Regions from separate parts of the Homo sapiens genome. Here regions 1, 3 and 4 are each linked to region 2. The links are contacts of gene promoters, found by promoter capture Hi-C in blood cells and fetal thymus (Javierre and others, 2016). All regions are on one chromosome and are shown on one strand. The core of a region is centred on a gene start or on the middle of the fragment in contact, and the rest is flanking DNA. Distances in the headings are between cores, read along the strand shown.

Evidence for each region. The method cuts DNA at HindIII sites, captures the fragments that hold promoters and counts their contacts. A CHiCAGO score of 5 or more calls a contact.
Region 1: a contact is called between a fragment that was not itself captured here and the fragment with the promoter of FAM219B in region 2, in 2 of 17 cell types (monocytes and neutrophils). The highest score is 5.8, in monocytes.
Region 3: a contact is called between a fragment that was not itself captured here and the fragment with the promoter of FAM219B in region 2, in 1 of 17 cell types (M0 macrophages). The highest score is 5.0, in M0 macrophages.
Region 4: a contact is called between a fragment that was not itself captured here and the fragment with the promoter of FAM219B in region 2, in 4 of 17 cell types (neutrophils, non-activated CD4 T cells, activated CD4 T cells and 1 more). The highest score is 6.9, in neutrophils.

Annotation. Positions count from the first base shown.
Region 1 is chr15:75,363,147-75,365,846 of GRCh38, forward strand. It overlaps MAN2C1 (mannosidase alpha class 2C member 1), which reads right to left. Exons shown (of 26, transcript NM_006715.4): 5 at 1,342-1,519; 6 at 853-1,042. Among named protein-coding and RNA genes, the nearest start is that of MAN2C1, 4.1 kb to the right of the region's middle. The HindIII fragment of the contact is 8,016 bases long and covers 1-2,700 here.
Region 2 is chr15:74,905,520-74,908,316 of GRCh38, forward strand. It overlaps FAM219B (family with sequence similarity 219 member B), which reads right to left and starts at 1,332. Exons shown (of 5, transcript NM_020447.5): 1 at 1,068-1,332; 2 at 759-846. The coding sequence starts at 1,281. RefSeq lists enhancers at 1-748, 749-1,553, 1,395-1,674 and a silencer at 1,035-1,334. The HindIII fragment of the contact is 3,941 bases long and covers 1-2,410 here.
Region 3 is chr15:75,210,347-75,213,054 of GRCh38, forward strand. It overlaps C15orf39 (chromosome 15 open reading frame 39), which reads left to right. Exons shown (of 3, transcript NM_015492.5): 3 at 403-1,823. The coding sequence ends at 770. Among named protein-coding and RNA genes, the nearest start is that of C15orf39, 9.8 kb to the left of the region's middle. The HindIII fragment of the contact is 6,741 bases long and covers 1-2,708 here.
Region 4 is chr15:74,611,994-74,614,809 of GRCh38, forward strand. CLK3-AS1 (CLK3 antisense RNA 1) reads right to left here. Exons shown (of 9, transcript XR_007064715.1): 1 at 1-2,816. It also overlaps a transcript of CLK3 not described here. Among named protein-coding and RNA genes, the nearest start is that of CLK3-AS1, 2.4 kb to the right of the region's middle. RefSeq lists a silencer at 2,618-2,816. The HindIII fragment of the contact is 509 bases long and covers 1,188-1,696 here.

The sequences.
Region 1 (2,700 bases), core at 26-2,525, 460 kb after region 2:
AGCCTCTCCTGACTCCCAGGCTGCAGTTCCTCCCTTACCAGCCCAGAACCTCTCACACCTTACCCTACATCTTGGCACAGCAGAGAAAGCCCTTGTTCTGTGATCCCAAAACTTCGGCTGCATCAGAATCAATACCTTCAGGAGCTTGTTAAAAATGTGGATTTCCCGTAAAACTCAGACACTGCAAACTTGTCCAGGAAGCCTCTCTGGAATCCCCCAACCCAGCTGGAGTAAGTACCTCTCCTGTGCTCTCCAGTGCCTCAGACTCCCCACCATTGTGACACCAACTCTGCCTGCTGAATCTGTCTCTGTAATCCTACCCTCAATATCTAGCATGGGCCCCATGAGGCATCAGATTTTGTTGAAAGAATAAATGAGGCTGGGCACGGTGGGTCATGCCTGTAATCCCAGCACTTTGGGAGGCCAAGGCAGGCGGATCACCTGAGGTCAGGAGTTTGAGACCAGCCTGGCCAACGTGGTGAAACCCCGTCTCTACTAAAAATACAAAAATTAACCAGGCATTGTGGTGGGTGCCTGTAATCCCAGCTACTAAGGAGGCTGAGGCAAGAGAATCGCCTGAACCCGGGAGGCAGAGGTTGCAGTGAGCCGAGATCACACCATTGCACTCCACCCTGGGTGACAAGAGTGAGACTCCGTCTCAAAAAAAAAAAAAGTGAATCCAAAGCAAGCAGAGCCCACAGTCCAGCCCCCCGGCCCCGTTTTACAGACGGGGAAAACGCAGGTCCAAGAGGAGCAAGAACTTGCTGAGCATCACACAGTGCTTCTAGGGCACATCCAGGTCTTCAAGGGCACTCCTGCTTCCCCAGCCAGCCCAACCAGCTGCTGTCCTACCTGTATCAATGTGGCAGTGCCCTGTGGCATGAATGGTGTGTTGGCTTTCACCCCCATGTTGGCCAAAGAACCTGGAGGCCAGGGCCTGGGCCACTGGGAAGGTCTCGGGCTGGGCAGGGTCACACACGTTCACCATCTGATTGGCTGTGTACAGGGCCTGGAAGCTGCGCTGGTTGTCCTTCCCGAGGCCCTGCAGCAGGGTTCTGCCCCTTAATCCCTTTTTCAAGCACAGCTTCCAGACCTAGGCTCCACTGATCTCAGGGCTCTCAGCAGAGCTCCCCTGACCCCCAACCCTTTTTCCCTGCTGGTCCCCCTGCTCAGCACCGTCTCCCTCCTCCCCTTCACATAGGAAAATTCTCTCAACCCTCAAGCAGGTGGAAACCCTCGTCCTACTCTGGATTCCCAGAGTCCCATTTATCTGACCCAAAGAACAACCTTCTTGGAGCAGGGCTCTAGAGGGTAGCAGGGGGTACAGGGGGTGTCAAGTACCTTGGCTATGCCCAGCAGCAGCTCCAGATCCACCAGGAGCATGTGGACATCCCGGTGGAACACAGCTAGCTCAGCCCGGCTCAGCTGGAACATCTTCTCAGGGTCAGGGGCTGCAATCATGCTTCCCTTCCCGGCCCCCAGGAGCCCATTGCAGGCTACTTCCACATAGAGAGTGAGGCTACAAAGATGGGGAGACAGCCTCAGGCTAAGGGACTGGCACAGTACTCCGGGGACTTGGGGAAGGGGCACCCAGGAGGCATCCAGCTGAGCCCAACCTGTCTGCTTCCAGGATCCACTACCCAGAGGATCCCACAGTGTGACAAGAGTGCATGTGGGAGGGTTGTGGTACAAACACCAGATGGATCCCATGTCTTGCTGTCAGAGAGAATAAGTAGCAAAGTTTGGAACCATGTAAAGTACGCTGCTGTTTAGTCTTATATTTCCAAAGTTGTCTTTGCAAAGCACTGCCTTGGTCTTGGAACCCTCTTTGCATATTAAAATCATGTTCGGATCTCCCAGGCTCAAACTTTTAGACCCAAGATCTAAAACCAACACGGCCAACATGGGCGGGCCATTCATTGGAGAACAGGCTGGGCTGTGGTGATGCCATACTTAGGCTTCAGAGAGCAAACACGACTTCCTTAGGGAGGCCTTCCTGACTCCACTTCGCTGCTAAGTCTAGAGCAAATTCCTCAGTGGAGTACCCAGGATTTCCTTCCAGAGCCCTCAGTTTTGTAATTATATGAGTGAATCTGTCTCCCTTTGTTGGCAAGGGCTATTTTATTCACCACCATACTCCCAGTGTCTGAAAGCATCTGAAACAGTGTCAATCTATATAAAATACATTCATAATGTCTAAGAAGTGTTTTTAATGGTGTCATAAAATGTCCATGTTATAACATGGAATGTAAGAAGTCAGGATACAATCTTAACTAGTAAAAACTATACCGGGATGAGCCGGGCACGGTGGCTCATTCCTGTAATCCCAGCACTTTGGGAGACTCAGGCAAGTGGATAGCCTGAGGTCAGCAGTTTGAGACCAGCCTGGCCAACAGAGTCAAACCCCGTCTCTACTAAAAATACAAAAAATTAGCTGGGCATGGTGGTGGGCACCTGTAATCTCAGCTAGTAGGGAGGCTGAGGCAGGAGAATTGCTTGAACCTGGGAGGCGGCGGTCGCAGTGAGCCGAGATCGTGCCATTGCACTCCAGCCTGGGTAACAAAAGCGAAACTCCGTCTCAAAAAAATCCAAAAAAACCCCCCCGAAAAAACAAAAAAAACTATGCCGGAAAGATACACCAAGAACATGAATACTGGGCCAGGTGCGGTGGCTCACGCCTGTAATTCCAGCATTTTGGGA
Region 2 (2,797 bases), core at 82-2,581:
CTCAAGTGATTTTCCTGCCTCAGCCTCTTGAGTAGCTGGGACTACAGGCGTGCCCAGCTAATTTTGTATTTTTAATAGAGACGGGCTTTCACCATGTTGGCCAGGCTGGTCTCGAACTCCTGACTTCAAGTGATCCACCCGCCTCGGCTTCCCAAAGTGCTGGAATTACAGTCGTGAGCCACCACGCCCGGCCTGTATTCTACTCCTCCCATAGGTCTTGGAAAAAAGCACACCTCCCCTTGCCTGATCTAGGAAAAGCACCCTCTCCCCACTTATTTAATCAGAGGACACAAAAACTGCAAGTCTTTGGGTAAAAGGTTAGGGTTAACCTTCACTTCTCCGAGTTTCAACCCTCATCTGTAAAAGGAGGCACTGAATAAGGTTCTATGCAGCTCCGAGTTTACTATTCTGTTAAAAACAAACAAACAAAAACAGGTCTAGCCATTCCCACACTGCTCTTCGTCCTCATTGCTGGGGACTCCAGCCACCATTCTCCTCCCTAACAGAGGAGGAGAATGATAGTGAATGAGCCTGTGCACTCACAGAACTCCCTTATTCCGAAGCCCTTTATCTGATCCTATCACATCCTTAAAGGAAAAGAGAGATTGTTCCTCTTCCCATTTTAAAGATAGTGAACCTGACAGGTTGCATCAGGGGAATCGCTAGCTCGGCCTTAAACCAGAGCACCCTGCCTCCGTCCTGGGGATTAAAGCCTTCTCTAAAGCTGCTGGCACAGAGGAGGTGGCGCCTGCTGAGACCTTTTCCCTGAAGAGTCTGGGCGGTTCGGCGAGGCCCCCAGCATGCCTTTTCTCCGCAGAACGGCCTTGGCCAGGTCCCGGTGCTTCTCTGGAAGTTAAAGGACCCGGGTCAGCCGGGTCTTCCCCACTCCGCCGCGTCTCCCGAAGGCTGGGAGGCCGCTCTTTCCGAACGGATTTTGAGGGGCGAGAGCAGGCTGCAGCTAACCCCTTCCCTCCGGGGCCGAGGCCCAGCGGAGCTCCGGAACCCGCCCTGGGGACGCGGCCGCCCGCCCAGGGAGAAACCTCCCCCGACCATCGGGCCACACTCACGCAGCTTGGCTTGAATGGAGGGTGCGCGCGTCACCATGTATGGCCCCCGCTTTTCCACGGCCGCGGGGGTGCGCTCCCCCAGACGGAGGGCTCTATTACCGATCTGCCCGGAGGGTGGCCCCGCAGCTCCCGGCGCGCGGTCCCGAGCCCCGCTGGGCCGGGGTCCCGGGGTAGACAACCGCAACGCGCGCCCGCTGGGCTCCGCGGTCGCCATGGCCGGGCCCCGCCCTGCCGGATGGTGCAACCCCGCCCGTGGCGAAAGAGTGACCGGCCGAGGGAGAGGCGGGCTCTTTTAACAAGATGGCGGTGCGCAGGCGCAGGTAGTCCCCTTTCGGAGCTCTCCGGTTCGGTAGTCTGAGGACTTGGCCGAAATGTTCCGCCCTTCTTTTCGGGGGGACCGGGCAGTTCCGTTCTCGGTTTTGGGGTAGGCGGCTTGAGCCTGGTGATGGTTAGGCTTAGTTCTGTCTCTAGTGGAAATTAAATACTGATACTGTCGTGGGGCTGCGCGTGTGCGTCGGTCGGGTGCCCACGGTTTGAGTCCTGGCGCGCCGCACTCTGTGCTTCTCGCAGTGTCTCCTTGGGGGTCTCCCCACATGTGGGGCTGCCAGAGAGCAGACTTGGGTTGAAGAGTCATATGAGGACAAGCGTTATCAGCGACCTTTTCTAGCAAAAGAAACAGGCCCCAGAAGTTAAAGAACCTTGTGAAGGTGACACATCTAGAGGCAGTGCTTGCGCTGATCCATCTGACGCCAAACCCCACCTTCTTTCCAACACCAATTGGTGCCTGTGACATTGGACAGGACCTGACCCTCTCTAGGCCTCAGTTTCCACATTTAAAAATAGAGCCAATGTCACTACTCATTGTACAGTGAGGCAAATAGGCGTTGAAAAGGAGGGTGAAAGTGCACTCTGAGTCTGTGTGTGGTAGGCTATGTGTCAGGGCTCTTGACTTCTCTAGCCCCCAAGGGATGTGCTTGTGACTGGCTGGAAAGAAACTCCAGATCCTTGTAGAACTCCCAAATCTCATGAGGCTGTCCCTTGACTAACTTACTGGCTTCAATAGGGTAGGTCAACAGTGTGCAACCTCCGAGCTCCCAGGGCCACGCAGACCGTTGGGTGGCACTATGCCTTGGGCAAGAGAGGTGAAAAGGAAGAATTTAGGGCTGAAGTTTTCAAAAATCAAAAGCACAAAGGAATCCTTACCATTTTGGTAGATTCCCCCCACTCCCCATGATGTTAGACTGTTTTTGCCTCCAGAAACAGCAGGTTCATATAGCTCAACTTAGTATTTAATGGTTATAACCTCCCAATGAAGCCAATAGTTATTCTTGTTAAACAAATGAAGCTTAGACTTGGTCAAGTTTACCAGTTAAGTGATAAACCTGGAATTTGTACCCAGTTGCCTGTGGACTCCAAAGAAGTAGTTTTCTGGCCGGGCACAGTGGCTCACATCTGTAATCCCAGCACTTTGGGAGGCTGAGGCAGGCGGATCACCCGAGGTAGGGAGTTCAAGACCAGCTTGGCCAACATGGTGAAACCCCATCTCTACTGAAAATACAAAATTAGCCGGGCGTGGTGGCGGGTGCCTATAATCCTAGCTATTCAGGGGCTGAGGCAGGAGAATCGCTTGAACCCAGGAGGCGGAGGTTGCAGTGAGCCGAGATCAGGCCACTGCACTCCAGCCTAGGCAACAGAGCAAGACGCTGTCTCAAAAACAACCAACCAACCAC
Region 3 (2,708 bases), core at 188-2,687, 300 kb after region 2:
GGCCTCGGGCTTGGGCTTGGTCTCTGGGGCTGGTATGGCAGAAACATGATGGCTGTCTTATATATGGCAGGGTCCTCTGTTCCCATGCCTCAGTTTTCCATCTGAGCAATGGGTATTGGACCAGGCCAATGGTTCCTGACCTGCTGAGCCCCTTTGCTCTCATCCTTGTACCCAAACAGCCTCTCCTGAGTGGTGCCCTCATCAGATAGAGTTCTGGTGTCACCTGGGGAGAAGCACATCTTTTTTGCTTGGATGGTCTGGCCAGTGGGCATGTGTGGGGAAGAGTTGTGATGCCAGCCTGACTTGGGGCAGAGCAGAAGCACTGTTTGGATGGCTTTGGAAGCCAGGAGGTGGGACCTGAGGGTATGGGGTCTGCAGGCTGACTATGTGTTCGTTTTCCAGGTGACTTTGACACTGAGGCTGGAGCTGTGTCCTCCTCAGAGCCCACTGTGGCCAGAGGTGAGCCAGAGAGCCTAGCCCTGGCTCAGAAGTCACCGGCCCCCAAGGTCAGGAAGCCAGGCAGGAAGCCACCAACCCCTGGCCCGGAGAAAGCAGAGGCAGCTGCTGGGGAAGAGTCCTGTGGTGCCTCCCCTACCCCTGCTACCAGTGCCAGCCCACCTGGCCCCACACTGAAGGCCCGCTTCCGCAGTCTGCTGGAGACCGCCTGGCTCAATGGCCTGGCTCTGCCCACCTGGGGCCACAAGTCCTCAAGACCAGACCAGCCCTCACCCTGCCCACAGCTGCTGGACAGCCAGAGCCATCACCTGTAGCACTGGTTGCCAGTGCTGTGTGTATAGCAGTCACTCTCCACCCTTCCCTTCTGCCTGCCCAGCTGCCCCGGGGCCACGAGTGGATGCTGGGGCTGTGGCTGCTCCCCTGGAGGGGTTCCATCTCTGACCCTGTGGCCCATTCAGGGTGGGCTGAAGAGCCCCTGAGCTTTTAACGTGAGGGTCTTTATTGGATAGGACTACTCCCTATTTCTTGCCTAGAGAACACACATGGGCTTTGGAGCCCGACAGACCTGGGCTTGAATCCCGGCTCGTGTTCTTGCTGCAGGACCTGGGCAAGAAACTTCACCTCTGCTGAGCCCTCATTCCCCATGTGTAAAATGGGACAACGCAACCTACCTCACAGGGTTGTTGTGGGGATGCTGCCTGATACATACCCTGTCACCATTTGGTCTCTGCTTCCTCTCTGGGACAGGGCCTAGAATTGGAGGCAGAGAACCTTCCTATAGAAAGTCTTCGTGTGTCCTAGGACTTGGCTATCGTAGAGTGGTACCTTAGGCAGTGGATGTGACTCACACTTTCAGGAGTCACCCCCCAGCATTTGGGGTTGGGTTGGCCCTACTCCAGCCTGGAGCTCCCTGAGGGAGCCTGCACTCCCTGCTCCCAATCCCCGCTACTGGTGCAGGGATGCAGCCTGGAGCTGGCGTCCTTGTTCTGGGCCTGCTGCTGCCGCCACCCCAGGAGGCCCCAGGCCTGTCCTGAATTGACATCAGTGCTTCCCTGAACTGCCTCCCCCACCCCTGGCATTATCCCAGGAAACTTATGTTTTCTAGAAGCTAAGCAGCTGCTGGGACTCAGGGACTGGTGCAGGTAGGCTGAGTGGCAGCTCAGTCCTAGAAGGTCTCTGAAGATCTGGACTGAGGACCCTGCTGCTCCCCAAGCCAGAGCCCATCAGCCAGGCCTGCTGTGAGCCACCTGCCTGTGGAGTGCTGAGCTCAACCAAAGGCTGGCAAGCTCTGGGCCTCATTTAAGGGATTCTGATGAGCCGATGGGCCCTGGAGGCAGCCCATTAAAGCATCTGGCTCGTTTTTGGAAGTGGGGCCTGTCCGTGTGTTTGGGGATGGTCGGTTTCATGTTCCGTCACTGTGTGCTTAGCCCTTTGCTCGCAGGCTGCTCTCCCTGCTCCCAGTCCAGAAGGTGCTTCTGCACCCTCGTGCAGATGGCTGTGGCTCTGTGGACCCCTCTCACACACATACTTGCTTGCTCTGGGAAAGCCCTCTCTCCTGAGACCCCGTGGGTCCTCGTGGTTGTTGGTCTGTGGGCTACTGCCTGGTGAGAAATGCTGGTCATTAGACCCAGCACGTGCCTCTCTCCCAGGGCCAGACATGTCTTTCATGGTCTGGGTAGAACTGTTACAGCCTCCCCATTGCTGGTGACCATGCATCCCACTGACCTTAGCTTGGAGGGTGGGGGGTAGTGTGCTGGGCCCACCCTCTGGAGACCCTGCCCCTGCTGGGCTCTGTTCCCCCAGAGGCTTGTTCTCAGGGCAGCTAAGGTGGCTTCCTGGGCCTGTCTTCCCACTCCCCCTGGGCCAGGGGCCAGTCCACTGGGGCTTGTTGGACCTGTGTGGCATCCTGGTGGTGGTCACTGAGCCCAGCTGCACTGTCCCTCCTGTGCCAGCCTGGCCTTAACACTAGGCTGGGATTTGGAGTGGCAGCTGCCATTGTCCCCTTCCATTGTTCATATAGGCCCAAGAAGAGCTACTGGGCTGTGAAGGGATAGGTAACCACAACACATTGTGGCTGCTGCAGTGACAACCAGGGTGGAGGGTCCTTGGGTCCCAGAAGAGGTGATACCTGAATTGGACCTTGAAGACAAATACAAAATCACATGCAAAGTGGGGTCTGGGTAGAGAGAGCCGCACGTGCAGAGTCTTGGTGAGTCTGGAACAGGAAAATCCCCAGGCGAGGCTGGAGCTCC
Region 4 (2,816 bases), core at 192-2,691, 290 kb before region 2:
TTCTCAGTTCCCAGTGGTTTCCATGAGCTGTGGGTGCTGCCAGGGGTGGCCACTTGCTGAACACAAACCCCATTATCCTCACAGCAGCTGGTCTGGGGAGGCGCAGCAGGCACTCCTGAGGGGAAATTGGTGCCCAAGTCCGGCAGGGAGTCCCGTGAGGAGCTGCAATCCCCACCCAACACTGTCTGCACCAGAGCCACGTTCCCCCTTCCAGTGTGGAAGTCTGGAAATGGCAGGGGAGCATTTGGGGGCCACCACAGTTTAGCTATGATGTGGGGGTCAGAGCCCTTAAGTCAAGTCACTGCTCAGGTACCTCTCTGGCTTCCATAGCTTCAGCTGTAATATGGAGGCCCTGACGGACCTCTCACCCACCAGCTTGGTGAGGAAGGTCAGAGGGTAGACAGGGGCTATTCTGCCAGTGTTGCCATCCCTACACCCCTCACCATCACCCTCCTCACCTCTAGGGTCTGGGCCCAAGTCCACTGCCTCCCAACTCCCAACCCTGGGCACGAGGCACCCTGCCCTGGCTCTGAAAGGGCACAGGAGTTGTCTTCACCTAAGCAGTGGTTACACCTAGCACCTCTACCACCCCCACCCTGACCTCCCCACTCCTCACATTCCCAGGCCTTCTCCACTCAGGATGGCACCATCGCCCACCAGGCCTTCTCCCCACTGGACAGCTTGACTCTCCTCTCCCCTTACTCCAGGCCCAGGCTCCTGCAGCCCCCTCCAAAATTGTCTCCCCTCCAAAATGTCACTGCCACACAAGGCTTCTCTAAGACAGACCATGAGGACTGGCCGCTGCCCCCACCTCCCATACTGGGTACAGCTCCCACAATGCCACTCTACCTGGGTGCTCTGTCTTGCCAGTTAGAAGTGACAGGCTTTCCATGGCAGCCCCCTGCCCTTAGTGAGAAGCTGAGCTGTGCCCAGCTTGGTCCGGGAGGGGCTCATGGTCCACAGAATGGAGTGCACATGCAGGCCAGATTGTCCTGAGCAGGGGGGCAGGCCAGGGCAGCCCCAGGAAGGCTTTCCAGGGAGGTGACCCTGGGGCCAAGGCTCAGAGGTGAATTAACTGCCTCCAGAGAAGGCAAAGTCAGATGAGGCAGACAGAGGAGACAGTAAGGACAATAGAACAAGGAGGGCATCAGAGCAGCTGGGCCTGGCGGGCAGTGAACTGAGCCCTAAGCTTGGTGGAAGTGGAGGTGGGGGGCAAAAGGGAGACCAAAAGGGGTGAGAGGAGCTGTGGGGTTTGGGAGGATGCAGGGCAGCGGCACCTCCCCAGTGCCCTTGAGATATGCTACAGACCTCAACTCCACAGAGGCTGAGGACCCAGACAGGAGCTTGGGCCTGAGGGGCAGTGGAGGTGGAGCAAGCCTCCTCTGAGGTGGGGATGGGAGTGGAGGAGTTACCCAAACCTCACCTGGGGGCAGATCTTTCTCCAAGTTTCTGAAAGGTGTGAAAGTCACAAAAGAATGAAGCTCTAAGGGTAGAATCTCAGGCAGGATGGCCTCCAGGCTGCAAAGTGTGGAGAGGGAGACAGCTGGGAGATGGCTTCTGTTCCACCTCAGAAAAAGAGAGTTGCTTCGTGGCTGGGAGGTAGGGACTCCTGGATTCTCAGTGGTGGGCAGTTTTGTGGGAAGGTGACTAACTTACCCCATCAGAGCCTATAGCTCAGGGCAGGGCTGGGGACAGAAGCTTCTCTGAGAACATCCATCCCGGGGACAGAAGCTTCTCTGAGAACATCCATCCCTCAGGGCTAGTATCCTGGAGCCATGGAAACTCAGGCAACACTAAGTGGTGGGAGGAGGAGACACCAGAGAGGCCTCCTACTCCACCTCATCTGAGCTGATGAAACCCCGAGATGGAACCTGGCTAGTGTGGTCGAGGCCATGGGTACCAGGCAGGAATGGCATCTCAGATGGCCTGGGATTTTTCAAAATCTTCAGCTTTTGAGATAGGACCTTAGGGGGCAGGACCTCAGCAGCCAATCTGGGTCACCCACTGTACACTGAAGCGGCTCCTAACTTTCTTTTTTGAGACGGAGTTTTGCTCTCTTGCGCAGGCTGCAGTGAAGTGGCGCGATCTCGGCTCACTGCAATCTCTGCCTCCCGGGTTTAAGTGATTCTCCCACCTCAGCCTCCCGAGCATCTGGGACTACAGGCGCGTGCCACCACGTCTAGCTAATTTTTGTATTTTTAGTAGAGACGGGGTTTCGCCATGTTGGCCAGACTGGTCTCGAATTCCTGACCTCAGGTGATCATCCACCTCAGCCTCCCAAAGTACTGGGATTAGAGGGGTGAACCACCGCGCTTGGCCGATTTTTTGTTTATTTTTTGAGACAGGGTCTCCTTCTGTCGACCAGGCTGGAGTGCAGTGGTGTGATCATAGCTCACTGCAATCTCAACCTCCTGGGATCAAGCGATCCTCCTGCCTCAGTCCCCTGCAAGGAGCTGGAACTACAGGCATGCGCCACCCAGTCCGGCTAATTTTTGTAATTTTTTGGAAGGGGACCCAGTTTTGAATTAGCTTCTGTTGTTTACTTCGGATAGCCATGGTGGAGCTGGCAGAGATTTAGGGGATACTAAACACCCCTACAAATCACGCCTTGAAACCCCCCGTTTCAGGGAGAGCCGCTGGCGAAGGACTTGATGCGCAGCCGCAGCTCGGAAGCGGGGGGCTCCCCTGCGACACCTCCCCGCTTCAGGGGCGGGCCCAGACCCGCGGGGAGGGGCATGGGCGGGGCCGCGGCTGGCTGGCGGCCGCCGGGGCGGTGCTGGGGAAACCCTTGGCGCCCCCGCGGAGCGGTCCCAAGG